2 separate regions of the Homo sapiens genome follow, and region 1 is linked to region 2. The links are contacts of gene promoters, found by promoter capture Hi-C in human tissues and cell types (Jung and others, 2019). All regions are on one chromosome and are shown on one strand. Each heading gives the region's core, a stretch centred on a gene start or on the middle of the fragment in contact. The rest is flanking DNA. Distances are from core to core; before and after follow the strand shown. Region 1 has its middle 33 kb from the start of LY6H. Region 2 holds the start of CYP11B2 (cytochrome P450 family 11 subfamily B member 2).

What was found. Contacts are between HindIII fragments. The study calls those that stand out against the background at their distance.
Region 1: a contact is called between a fragment that was not itself captured here and the fragment with the promoter of CYP11B2 in region 2, in 2 of the 25 tissues and cell types used here (pancreas and thymus).

Annotation. Positions count from the first base shown.
Region 1 is chr8:143,124,743-143,130,362 of GRCh38, forward strand. No RefSeq gene overlaps it. Among named protein-coding and RNA genes, the nearest start is that of LY6H, 33 kb to the right of the region's middle. RefSeq lists an enhancer at 2,152-2,711. The HindIII fragment of the contact is 4,563 bases long and covers 1-3,557 here.
Region 2 is chr8:142,915,662-142,921,545 of GRCh38, forward strand. CYP11B2 (cytochrome P450 family 11 subfamily B member 2) reads right to left here and starts at 2,182. Exons shown (of 9, transcript NM_000498.3): 1 at 1,941-2,182; 2 at 1,398-1,553. The coding sequence starts at 2,179. RefSeq lists a promoter at 2,181-4,201 and an enhancer at 3,188-3,469. The HindIII fragment of the contact is 14,293 bases long and covers 1-5,884 here.

The sequences.
Region 1 (5,620 bases), core at 26-2,525, 210 kb after region 2:
ACGTACATTCACATACATGTGCACACACCTTCACATGTACACACAGACCCTCACACTGTATACATATGCATACCCACACGTACACACACCCTCACATATGTACATGCACACATACACATGCCCTCACATGTACACACACACCCTCAAATGTACACACATCCTCACACATGTATACACACGCACCCTCACATGTACACAGCCCTCACACATGTACACACCCTCAAACATGTACACACATCCTCATACACATGCACACCCTCACAAATGTACATGCACACGCATGCCCTCATATATGCACGAGGACACACCCTCAAACATGTACACACACACATCGGCACACATGCATACACATGCCCACACACTCATGTACACACATACACACCCTCACACATGTACATACACCCTCACACACACCCTGATAAATGTACACACACACCACACACCCTCACATATGTATACACACACCCTCACACATGCACACACGTGTACACACATGGAAAGTGTTACCATTTGCAACCCATCCATCCTCCCCTGGGGATGCTCTTGGAGAAAGAAATCAGACAAAAGAAAAGAATGTCCTTGTAAACACGCTAATGAGAGCTCCTGGAGGTGTCGACTGTGAGCACAGAAGAGCCTTCTGTTCAGGATTAAACACATCTGGGCTTATGGCACACGGCCCACTGGAAAATGTCAGTGCCTCTGGCAATTTCTAGAGTTTAAAGGGAAAAAGTTTCATAACGGAAAGAGCCCCCTTTGGGTAAGAGCTGCCCCTCCTGTACCACGGGGAGCTTCCTACCCTAAACCTTGATGCAGCGTGCCTCCATGTGTCAGGGACGGGGGTGGGGGTCGGCGAGTGGGCAGTCCCAGTGGTCCCCTGGCTTCCCCTGGCTCCCAGGCAAACGAGACCATCCCGCTCTGCGTGCTGTCTCCGGTGGGCACCACGAGCAGCATGGCTGTTTATTATCTAAGCTGAGGTTCTCTGAGGCAAGATAAGGGGGCGCGGGAGAAGCTTGCTGAGGACGAGGCTCCAGGTGGCTGTCAACCTGTCCCTGATACAAAACGCTGACAGCCTTGGGGCTGGCCACAGGGAGCACACCTTACCGAGGGGACGGAGAGGAAGCCGACCTGGGGCGGGGAGCTGGCCAAAGACCGGCACAAGGGAGGCGAGAGAAACAGCTCTTCCATGGCAGGTGCCACTGACACCCAGACAGAAACAAGGCCACTGGAAGAAGCAGCTGGGGCACAAGAAAGAAACCAGACCCGGTCCTCGGGTCAGTGCAGTCTCCTCTCTCCAGTGGCCAATTAAACAGATGTGACATTCATCCAAAAAGTAACTCAGCTGAGAAACCTGACTGGCTGCAAACCCATGCTGCGGGTGGAAGGGCATGGCAGGCGGCTGCGGAAACCCGAGGGTCCTCTGAGAAGAGCCAGGACATTTGGGGAGAGCGGCAGGCAAAGCCCGATGGCTCAGGATGGGCACAGTTTCCTAAATTATCAGTGCGAGGGGCGGGCACACCACTGATTCTAGATACCACTGCATGGAAGTGATGGTCAGGGCCAAGAACCAGTCCCCAAGACGCTGCAAGCTCTTGTGATCAAATGCTTCCAGGTGGGTCCATACGTCACTTGCTGCAGGTGGCAAAGGTGGGGGTTTTACCCTGAGAGGAGTGACTGCCCCCCACCAACCCACAAATGGCATCTTGCTTCCAAAGCTGTTGGGAAGTTACAAGTGCAGGTGACCCTAGGCTGGCTTTACGGTGAACAAGGGGACGCCTAATTTAATGCCATTGACACCAATGTTGCCACTAAACAGAAGCCCCTAAGACTGAAACTGTATAGGTTTTTGCAAAATTACATTCCTCATCCAGAAATCCTGTGATTCTAGTCACAGTGTCACTGGGGGAAAGACCTCGATGTGAAAGGGCCCTGCCCAGAAACAAGCTGGGACATGGCCCAGGCAGCCCACGGGGCCACTCAGGTGCTACTGGGAGGGCCCAGGTCTTGGTCAGAAAAGATTGGCTTTTGGCAGAAATGCAAATCACGTTTGGGGCCCAGGGGCTACCTGATGCATTTCTTTCATGTTGCCTGGGAGACCACCGTGAGCTGGCAGCCGTGCTGGGAAGATGCCCGTGCTGGGGCCCTCGCTGCACTACGAGCCACCACAACCCCACAGTGTGGGTCAGTGCCTGTTGACTGCCTGGCAGCTCCAGAGGGGTAGGAGTGCGAGGGCTCGGCTGGGCGGGGTCTCACAGACTGCAGTTGAGGTGTGACAGCTGGGCTCCTGGGTGGAGGCCCAGGGCTGTTCGGATGGATGGCAGACTCTTTTCCCGGCTGTAGAGCTGCATTCTCCGTCTCCTTGCTGGCGGTCAGCAGGACCTGGTCTCCACCGTTCAGGCTGCCATCTCGCACGGCCCCACAGCACTCTTCCCTGGCCTCTGACTCTTCTTCTGCTTTTAAAGGGCTGGCGTGATTCGACCAGGCCCACCTGCATCCACGGACCCTAAGGTCGGCTGACCTGGGACACACGGCACATCTGCAACGCCCCTTCCCGGCAGCACCCACGGGTATTGGAGGAGTGGTAGGGGATGGGGGAAGGAAGCTTGGGTGGGTGGGTCATTGGAACTCTTGTGCATGGAAGAGCGTTAGATGATCCCGACACCAGAAAAGTTGGCCACGTCCCAGGTGGCGTGAAGAAGCACTGGAGAAAGAGGGGCAACCCATGAAAGCCCCTTGGCGGGTTTAATGTCCAGCGGCAACAGTGAGGGGCCCAGCGGGGCATGGGTGACAGGGACCAGGTTACCAAGGGTCTGGGCGGGGAATGGCAGGGCATGTGAGGGGTATGGTGGGGAATGGCGGGGAATGGCGGGGCATGGGAGGGGCATGGGAGGGACATAGGAGGGACATAGGAGGGGCATGGCGGGGCATGGTAGGGCATGGCAGAGAATGGCGGGGAATGAGAGGGGAATGGTGGGGAATGGCGAAAAATGGCGGGGGAATGGGAGGGGCATGGAAGGGAATGGGAGGGAATGGGAGAGGCATGGCGGGGAATGGCGGGGCATGGGAGGGACATAGGAGGGGCATGGGAGGGACATAGGAGGGGCATGGCGGGGAATGGCAGGGAACGAGAGGGGAATGGTGAGGAATGGCGGCAAATGGCGGGGGAATGGGAGGGGCATGGCGGGGAATGGCAGGGCATGGGAGGGACATAGGAGGGGCATGGTGGGGAATGGCAGGGAGTGGGCTGCACAGAGACCAGCTTGCTTTGCTGCCCAGAGGGCTGTAAAGCAGCCCCCGCGGACCTCCTGGCCTGGCCCCTGCATCAGGCGGTCCCCCAGCCGGCAGAGCAGGCTGCCTGGCCCGGACTCTTCCCATGCCGGGGGCCCTTCTGCTGTTTGTAAATCAGCTTCCCCACGCCACACAGGTGGAGGCAGGACAGGCAACCTCCCTAATGCGGGAGCTGAAAAGGAGTGAAAAAGGAGTCAGGCCCCTGCTCTGGGGGCGTTTAGGGATTTGCCAACTCGGGCTGGACAACGGCCCCGCAGGATGCCAGGCAAATGCACCCCAGAGAACTGGACAATTGGAAAATCCCCAGGGTGCCCTCAGGAATGGGAATTCCTGCCAAAAACTCCTGTTGCCAGCTCAGAAGGGGTTGAATGGTAGCGCCTTGGTCAGATCCCAGAATGCGCCCAGCAGGTTAGGGAAGGAGCCAGCAGGAGGGAGCATGGGGTCCCCTTGTGCCCAGCGCAACAACTAGCATGAGAAGAAACCACATCCACCGCTGACCAGAAAGCATTTGCAAATAGCTTTGGGTGGCACCCCCGAAGGACAAGGCCTGGCCACAGCAGGCAAGGGGGACCCTGGGTGCCTATGGCCTATCAGGAGGCCCGGAACCAAGGGAGCACTCAGGACACACCAAGCAATACAGGACACACCAAGGAGCTCTTCCCATCCCAACACAGCCACAGGCACTCTTGCACCAGATGTGGGCAGGGCCTTGTTTCCTGCACACCAAGCAGTGCTGCAGGACACTGTCTGAGCATCCTACGGTTTAAGTCATTTCCCACCGCATCCGCCTGGAGGTAGCGTCAGATCCCACAGATCGAGGGCTCAGTCCCGTGCAAGGGGCCCCACTTCTGATGCCAGTTGCAAGCCCCGGGTGTGGCTTCTGACGGAACTGCCATGAATCAGGGTTCCCACAACCCCCTCCTCCGGTTTGATGAATTGCTGGAGTGGTTCACAGGACTCAGGGACACGCCGCCCTGCGTTTACCCATTTATGACACAGGCTGTGACGAAGGTGCGGAGGCACGGGGGGTGGAGGAGACAGGCACGTACATGTGCAGCTTCCAGACAGCCCCAGGCCTCCACCCAACATCCGCGCATTGGAGATGGGAAGTTCCTTGGGTTTTGCAAGGCACAGGGGAGAATGGCAGAGCTCCTGTGCCCTCCTGGGCGCCGTCCTCCAGGCACCTGCGTGCGTCCAACTGTTGAAAGCTCCTTTTGGGTTTTTATGGAAGCTTCATTACATATACATGATTGATTGCATCGTTGGCTATTGATGATCAACCCAAACTTCATCACACTCACTACAAAAGAGACTCTTGTCACTCCAGAGATTCCAGGAAGGAGCTAAGCTGTATCTCACGCTCTCACGACACTCTATTCTGGACTTGGCTTATTTGTAACAGAAGCAACCTTGGGAACAGCATGAGGTGTTTAGAATGGTGAGTCCTCTGTCAATTTCAGCCGACTTGGACCTACTTCTTCTGATCCAGGTACCCACTCTTGCTGGCACCAGGACACTGAGACGGTCCAGGAAACACGGCAAGCATACGTGTGCACCACACTGCTCGTCCCGTCCAGCTGTGGCCATGCTGAAAATTGCAATGGGCCACTGGAAGACAGGTTATTCAGGCAGGTGTGAGAAACGTGACCAGTTGGTGGAGTCGCTTAACTGGGGTGTCTTCAGACTGAGCCTGAGGGGAAGGCAGGCAGGCCGCTCACAGGCTTCAGGGCTGGGGGAAGGAGGAGGGCGTGTGGGGGGTGCAATTGGACCCTCTGTACCTTCCCCACCTCCCAAAGGTTTCTCTTCTTCTGCCTGAGCCAGTGGTCCCAGGACCCCATGCCCAAGCACTAAAGTGGGCGGCACAGGCTCCAGAAGGGACATTAGACTGGTCATGACTGGACCCCATGGCGGGACTTCCTGCAAATGTGGCCAGCAGGAGGGCTGCCCCGTGGCTCCTCACCGGCGAGTCCTGTGGCAGCAGCAGGCCGAGACACAGCACCACAGGGCTGTGCCGGGTGCCTGCTCGAAGGCAGAGCTGCAGTGGGGGATCCAACAGGAACCGTGGAAATGGGGGGCTCCTGCAGGCAGGGGGATACCCACAGGGTCCCGTGATCCTGCAGGGGTGCAAGTGGCTCCTTCCGTGATGGCCCTAGAGCAAGAGGGTAATACTCTTGCCACCTCTCCCAGACCTGGGGCCAAGTAAAGGCTGATGATAAAGAAGCCAGAGGTGCTTTTCCCAGAGATGGGAATCGGATTCCTGCTGACTTCACCTGAGTAATTCAGAGCACGAGGGAAGCTGCACCTCCAGGGGCGCTCCTGACAGGTAACCCACTGG
Region 2 (5,884 bases), core at 932-3,431:
CCCTCTCCTCCCCACCCTTCCCCGCCCTGGGCACAGTGCCTCTGGGGCAGCAGCCTCTGCCTGTCTCTGTGAAGCATCTATATCTTCTGCAGGACAGAAACCAAGCTTTGTGCTTCATGCCATCCTCACCCACAGCCAGAGTGCGTGGGGGCTCCATGGATGCCCCCAGGGAATGGTGGGGAGGAATTTCCCCTGTCAGCCACATTCCTGCAAAACTCCTTTATTTATGTCCAGCTGGCTGCTGTGAGCTGTTGACAGTGATGACAGGCAGAAGATGCACATGCACACGTGCGCCCATGCAAGACCTCAACACCATGTGTGAAGAGACGCATGTGCATGTGTGCACAAACACTACACCCATGCCGGCACCTGCACATGCACACACACAGACACTTGTGCACACACACCACACATACATTCACACACAGACACGTGCACACACTACACATGTGCAAATGCAGGTACAGAGAAACACACAGCATGTGCACAGATGCAAGACACACACACATACAGGAGCGCTCCCCTTCCTTCCATTATGCGCACCCAGCCTCCTGGACCTGCCTTCCTGGGTCCTGACTCTCTCCCAGATGTCATCTATAGGCCAGCCTCAGTGAAGGCCCCGACCCACGGGTGCCCTTTTACCTAAACCCCACTATTCCCAATAGCGTTCCCTTCCTACCATGGAGTGGGGGCTGTCACCACTGTGACATCCTCATCCAGTCCTTCCCCCGTCCTAATGACAACATCCCTGCAGGTGACCGACTCCAAGCATCAGCCTCTCCCTGCCCACCTGACCAGGCGCCACCCTCTCCACGGGCCAGGAAACATCCTCCCCAGTGCCATCAACCGCCCCACCTTGTGCCTTGCTTCTGAGAACAACGGAACCACCAGCCACCTGCGTCCCCACCTGCCTCCTGCCCCGGACTGTCCCCATCAGGAAGGTTTGCCAGGACTGCAGGGACCCTGAGCGCCCTGAGGGAGGCTGTGGCCCCGGCGAACACCAGGCTCAGCACTCAGCCTGTGACCTGGGCCAGTGGAAGTCCCCTTCTCAGGGCCTCAGTTTTCTGACCTATGGGAAGGACAGTCCCCAGACCGCAAGAGAAAGCAGCCGCCGAGGTTGGTGCAGAGCGGGTTCTCACTACACAGAAGGGCTCATTGCTCTGCGTCTTCTCTGCAGAGGTGCCCGTGCCCATTTCTCCACCACCGCCCTGCTTCCCCAACCCACAGTGCAGACGCGACCCCACAGGATGGCCGTCCTCTGGGCCGGGTGCTCACCCTCACTGCCCACCACAGGGGCCCAGGGCAGATGTGCTTTTGGGTCCTACCTCTCTCGCCTCCCCCCTACACCCAGGCTGCCCACCCTGCTCCCAGCTCTCAGCTCCCAACTCGCCGCTTACAACAAGAACACGCCACATTTGTGCCCACGATGTTGTCTGTAGGCCACCCAGGGCTCCAGGATCATCCTGCAGGGATGCAGGCTGTCCACCTGTTGCAGCTTCTCCACATCCTCCGGCAGCATCACACACACCATGCGTGGTCCTCCCAAGTTGTACCTGTGGGGCCAAGCAGGAGGCCCTGCTGGACGGGGTCATGTCCCTCGTGGCCCCACCCTGCAGTCCCAATCCAAAGTGTCTCCTGTCCACCCTCCCTGCTCCTGGATTAGCGGCTTCACAGCTAAAGCCCTCCTGCTGGCTCCCTGGAACCTTTCAACTTTAGTGCTTCTGAGTCCTGCCCTCTCTGCAGTGAGCTGGGGTTTTCTCTGCACTATCCCCTGCCCTGGCAGCACCACAGACCAGCATGTGCTGCACTCCTTCCCCATCCTCCAAAGGATGCAGAGTGCCGGGACCTGCTGGGAATGGCAGTGCTGAGTGCCTGGCAGGGTCCTGGGCAGCAGGGGCAGGGATCTGGGTGTTCCCAGCGAGGGCCAGGGAGGGCTTTACCTGAAAATGGGCCCCAGCTCCTGGAAGGTCTGGTGCATCTCCAGGTGCAGGTGCTCATAACCCTGCTCCCTCCAGATCTGCAGCAGCCTCAGCCACCTGTTGCCTGGATGCTGGGGCATGGCTTCAAACGGCAGCACCGTCCTAGGGGCCCGAGCGGCTCTAGTGCCCAGTGCCCGTGCCCTTTGCAGGGACAGCCAGGGCGCTGCCACGCACACCTCTGCCTTTGCCCTGAGTGCCATTCCAATGCTCCCTCCACCCTGTTCAGCCCAAATCCTTTTATCTCACCCAGGAACCTGCTCTGGAAACATATCACGTCATGGGAGAACTGGCTCTGGACCTGCCTGAGACTCTCAGAGCGAAGGTCAAGGCTGGAGGCCCCCAGCCAAAGGTAGATGAAGGAGAAGTCAGGTGCCTAATTCCCCATTGCTGCAAGTCCTGCTGGTCTGAGGATGCTGAGAAAAGGCGTGGGGTCTGGACTGGGGGTCCATGCTGGTGGAAGGTGGTGGGACCTGGCCTCTCCTTTCTCCAGGGCTGAGAGGAGTAAAATGGATGGGGACTTTATCTTATCGTGAGATGAGAGGGAGCCTTGGATTCTTTTAATAGACTTTATTTTTATACCACAGATTTAGTTCATTGCAAAATTGATCAAAAACTGCAGAAAATGTCCACGTACCCCCTGCCCTGACACAGGTACACCCTCCACCACAGGAGCGCACTGGTTCCATGTGAGGAATCTCGATACGTTGTTATCAACCAGGGTCCTGGAGTCACATGGGGTCTCCTCCTGGTGGTCAACATGCTGTGGGTTTTGACAAATGTATGTAATTTGTATCCCTCCTTGCAGGATCCTAGGAGTATTTTCACTGTCTTAAAAAGAGGAAAAGAAAACCTGTGCTCTGCCTGCTCATCCCTCCTGCCCCAGTCCCTGACATCTCCGATCTTTTTATCATCACCATGCTTTGGCCTTTTCCAAAATGTTGTATAGTTGGAATGACACCGTTTGTAGCCTTTTCAAAGTGACGTATCTCAGTTAGTAATATGCGTTTAAGGTTCCTCCATTTCTTTTCGTGGCTTGATAGCTAATTTCCTTTTTTTTTTTTTTTTCTAGAGGCTGGGTCTCACTTCTTTAGTGGTTGCCCTAGAGTTTGCAATATACGCTTAAAACTCATCTCTCCAACTCCACCTTCATATAACACTATACAGCTTCAGAGGTAATGCAAGCACTTTATAATCATCAGATATTCTTAGGCTGGGCATAGTGGCTCATGTCTGTCATCCCAGCACTTTGGGAGGCTGATGCAGGTGGATCACCTGAGGTCAGGAGTTCGAGACCAGCCTGGCCAACATGGCAAAACCCTGTCTCTACTAAAAATACAAAATTAGCCAGGTGTGGTGGCGCATGCCTGTAATCTCGGCTTCTCAGCAGGCTGAGTCAAGATGAATGCTTGAATCAAGGAGGCGGAGGTTGCAGTGAGTTGAGATCATCCCACTGCACTCCAACCTGGGCAGCAAAGCAAGACTCCATCTCAAAATAAATAAATAATAAGATATTTTTAATTCCACTCACCCATCCCTTGCATCATTGCTGTCCTTCATTTCACATATACATAACTATGATCATCAAATACACTTTCTGGCTTTTATTTATTTATTTTTATTATTTATTTATTTATTTATTTATTTATTTTTGAGACAGAGTCTCACTCTGTCGCCCAGGCTAGAGTGCAATGGTGTGATCTCGGCTCACTGCGACCTCTGTCTCCCGGGTTCAAGCAATTCTCCCGCCTCAGCCTCCCAAGTAGCTGGGATTACAGGCATGTGCCACCACCACGCCCAGCTAATTTTTGTATTTTTAGTAGAGACGGGGTTTCACCGTGTTGGCCAGGCTAGTCTCGAACTCCTGACCTCAGGTGATCTGCCCACCTCGGCCTCCCAAAGTGCTGGGATTACAGGTGTGGTGAGTCACCGCGCCCGGCCTATTTTTATTGTTGTTGTTTTGTTTTAGCAAACTCTTAGATCAATTAAGATTAAGAAAAAATAAAAGACTTCATTTTCTCTTTACTGATTCCTTCTGAAATGCTCTTCCTTTCTTTATGTAGCTCAGGGTTGCTGACCTGTATCATTTTCTTTCTCTCTGCAGAACTTTTAAAAAACATTTCTGGCAAGTCAGTTCTATTGGCAGCGAATCCCCTCAATTTTTATTTACCTGAGAAAATATTTATGTTCACTTTTGAAGGATAATTTCACAGGATGCAGAATTCTAGGTTGATGTATTTTCTTTTTTCTTCTAACACTTGAAATGTTTCCCTCCACTGTCTTCTTGCTTGCATGGTTTCTGAGGGTAAGTCACATGTAATTCTTAGCTTTACTCCTATATAGATAAGGTGTCCCCCACCCAACCCCTGGTTTCTTTTTCATCTTTGATTTTTCCAAAGTTTGAGTATGATATGCTTAGGTGGAGACGTTTGTTTTGTTTTGTTTTCTGCTTGGTGTTCTCTGAGCTGCTTGAATCTGTGGTTTGGTGTCTGACATTAATCATTATTGATTCAAATGTTTCTTCTGTTCCTTTCTTTTTTCCTCCTTCCAATGTCCCCGTTATGTGTATGTTACACCAGCAGTAGTTGTTTCACAGTCCTCAGTATTCTGTTCCGTTTTCTTCTTTTTGCCTTTCAGCTTCCAGTTTCCATTGACATATTCTCAAGCTCGGAGATTCTTTCCTCAGCTGTGTTCGGTCCACTAATAAGCCTATCTAAGGCACGCTTTGTTTCTGTCACAGTGTTTTTGATCTCCAGAATTTCTTTTTTCACCCATCCTTGAATTTTCATCTGGATGTCCACATTCCCCATCTGGTCTTGCGTGTTGTCTACTTTTCCATGAGGGTCCTTAGCGTATTAATCACTGTTGTTTAAAATTCCCAGTTGATCATTCCAGGTCCCTGCCATATCTGAGCCTCCTTGTAGTATTTACTCCATCACTTCAAACCTTGGCTTTTGCCTTTTAGTATGCCGTATCATTTTTTATTAAGCCCCAGACATAATATACTGCATAAAAGAAACTGCTGCAAATAGGTGCCTTTGATGATGCAGAGGTAAGGTGTGCGGAGAGGGGAGTGTGTTGTGGTCCTGTGAGTAGGTCTGAGTCTTTCAGTGAGCCTGTGTCCCCAACCCGTGAACATTACAAGGGCTTCTCAGTGTTTCCTTGACATAAATAGACAGGTTGAGCAGTAAGGGCTGGGGCTGTGTGTGGCTCTTCTCACATGTGGCACGCTACACGGACTGGGGTTGGATGTCTCTCTTCTTTCCCAGATAGTTCAGCTCTGATAAAACCCAGCAGCTTAGGCTCTGGCAAGACAGTCTCTCTGAAAGGCTGGCCTTTTAAAGAACAGAATGCTCTGGTGTATTTCATAATGACCATTCTTTTTCTCTTGCTGCCTGACATAGACGAGCTTTTCTGATATTTGCGGTGAGCACCTCGTAGAGCTTCTGGAGGTGAAACTCACATAAGTGAGTGCCCGGGTTCCTGACTGACCTTAGCTCTTACGCTTGTGCACACTGAGCCCCAGAAGCTCTTCTGGGATTGCTCTGGATTTTTTTTCTTGTCACTAGCCCTCAAGAAGCCTGCCCTTGGTGAGTGGCAATTCTCCATTTTCACCTGTCTGACTCTCCAGTCTTGGGGGTGGCAGTTTGCTGTGTGGTCTCACTTCTCCTGGGAATCTAAGAAGAGTTGCTGATTTTGGGAAGTTTTTTCCTTTTTACTTGATGTTAGGATGAATTAACAACTTCAAGTTCCTAGCATGCTGAATTGGACGCAAAGGTTGGACCTTGGATTACTCATCTGCCTGGAGCAAGGTCCCACACAGGAAGGAAGGGCAGAGGGCTGTACTTCCCGAATTACCAAATGGTATTTCACCTCCTCTTCCAGGCCCTATGCTGGGTGCAAGGAGC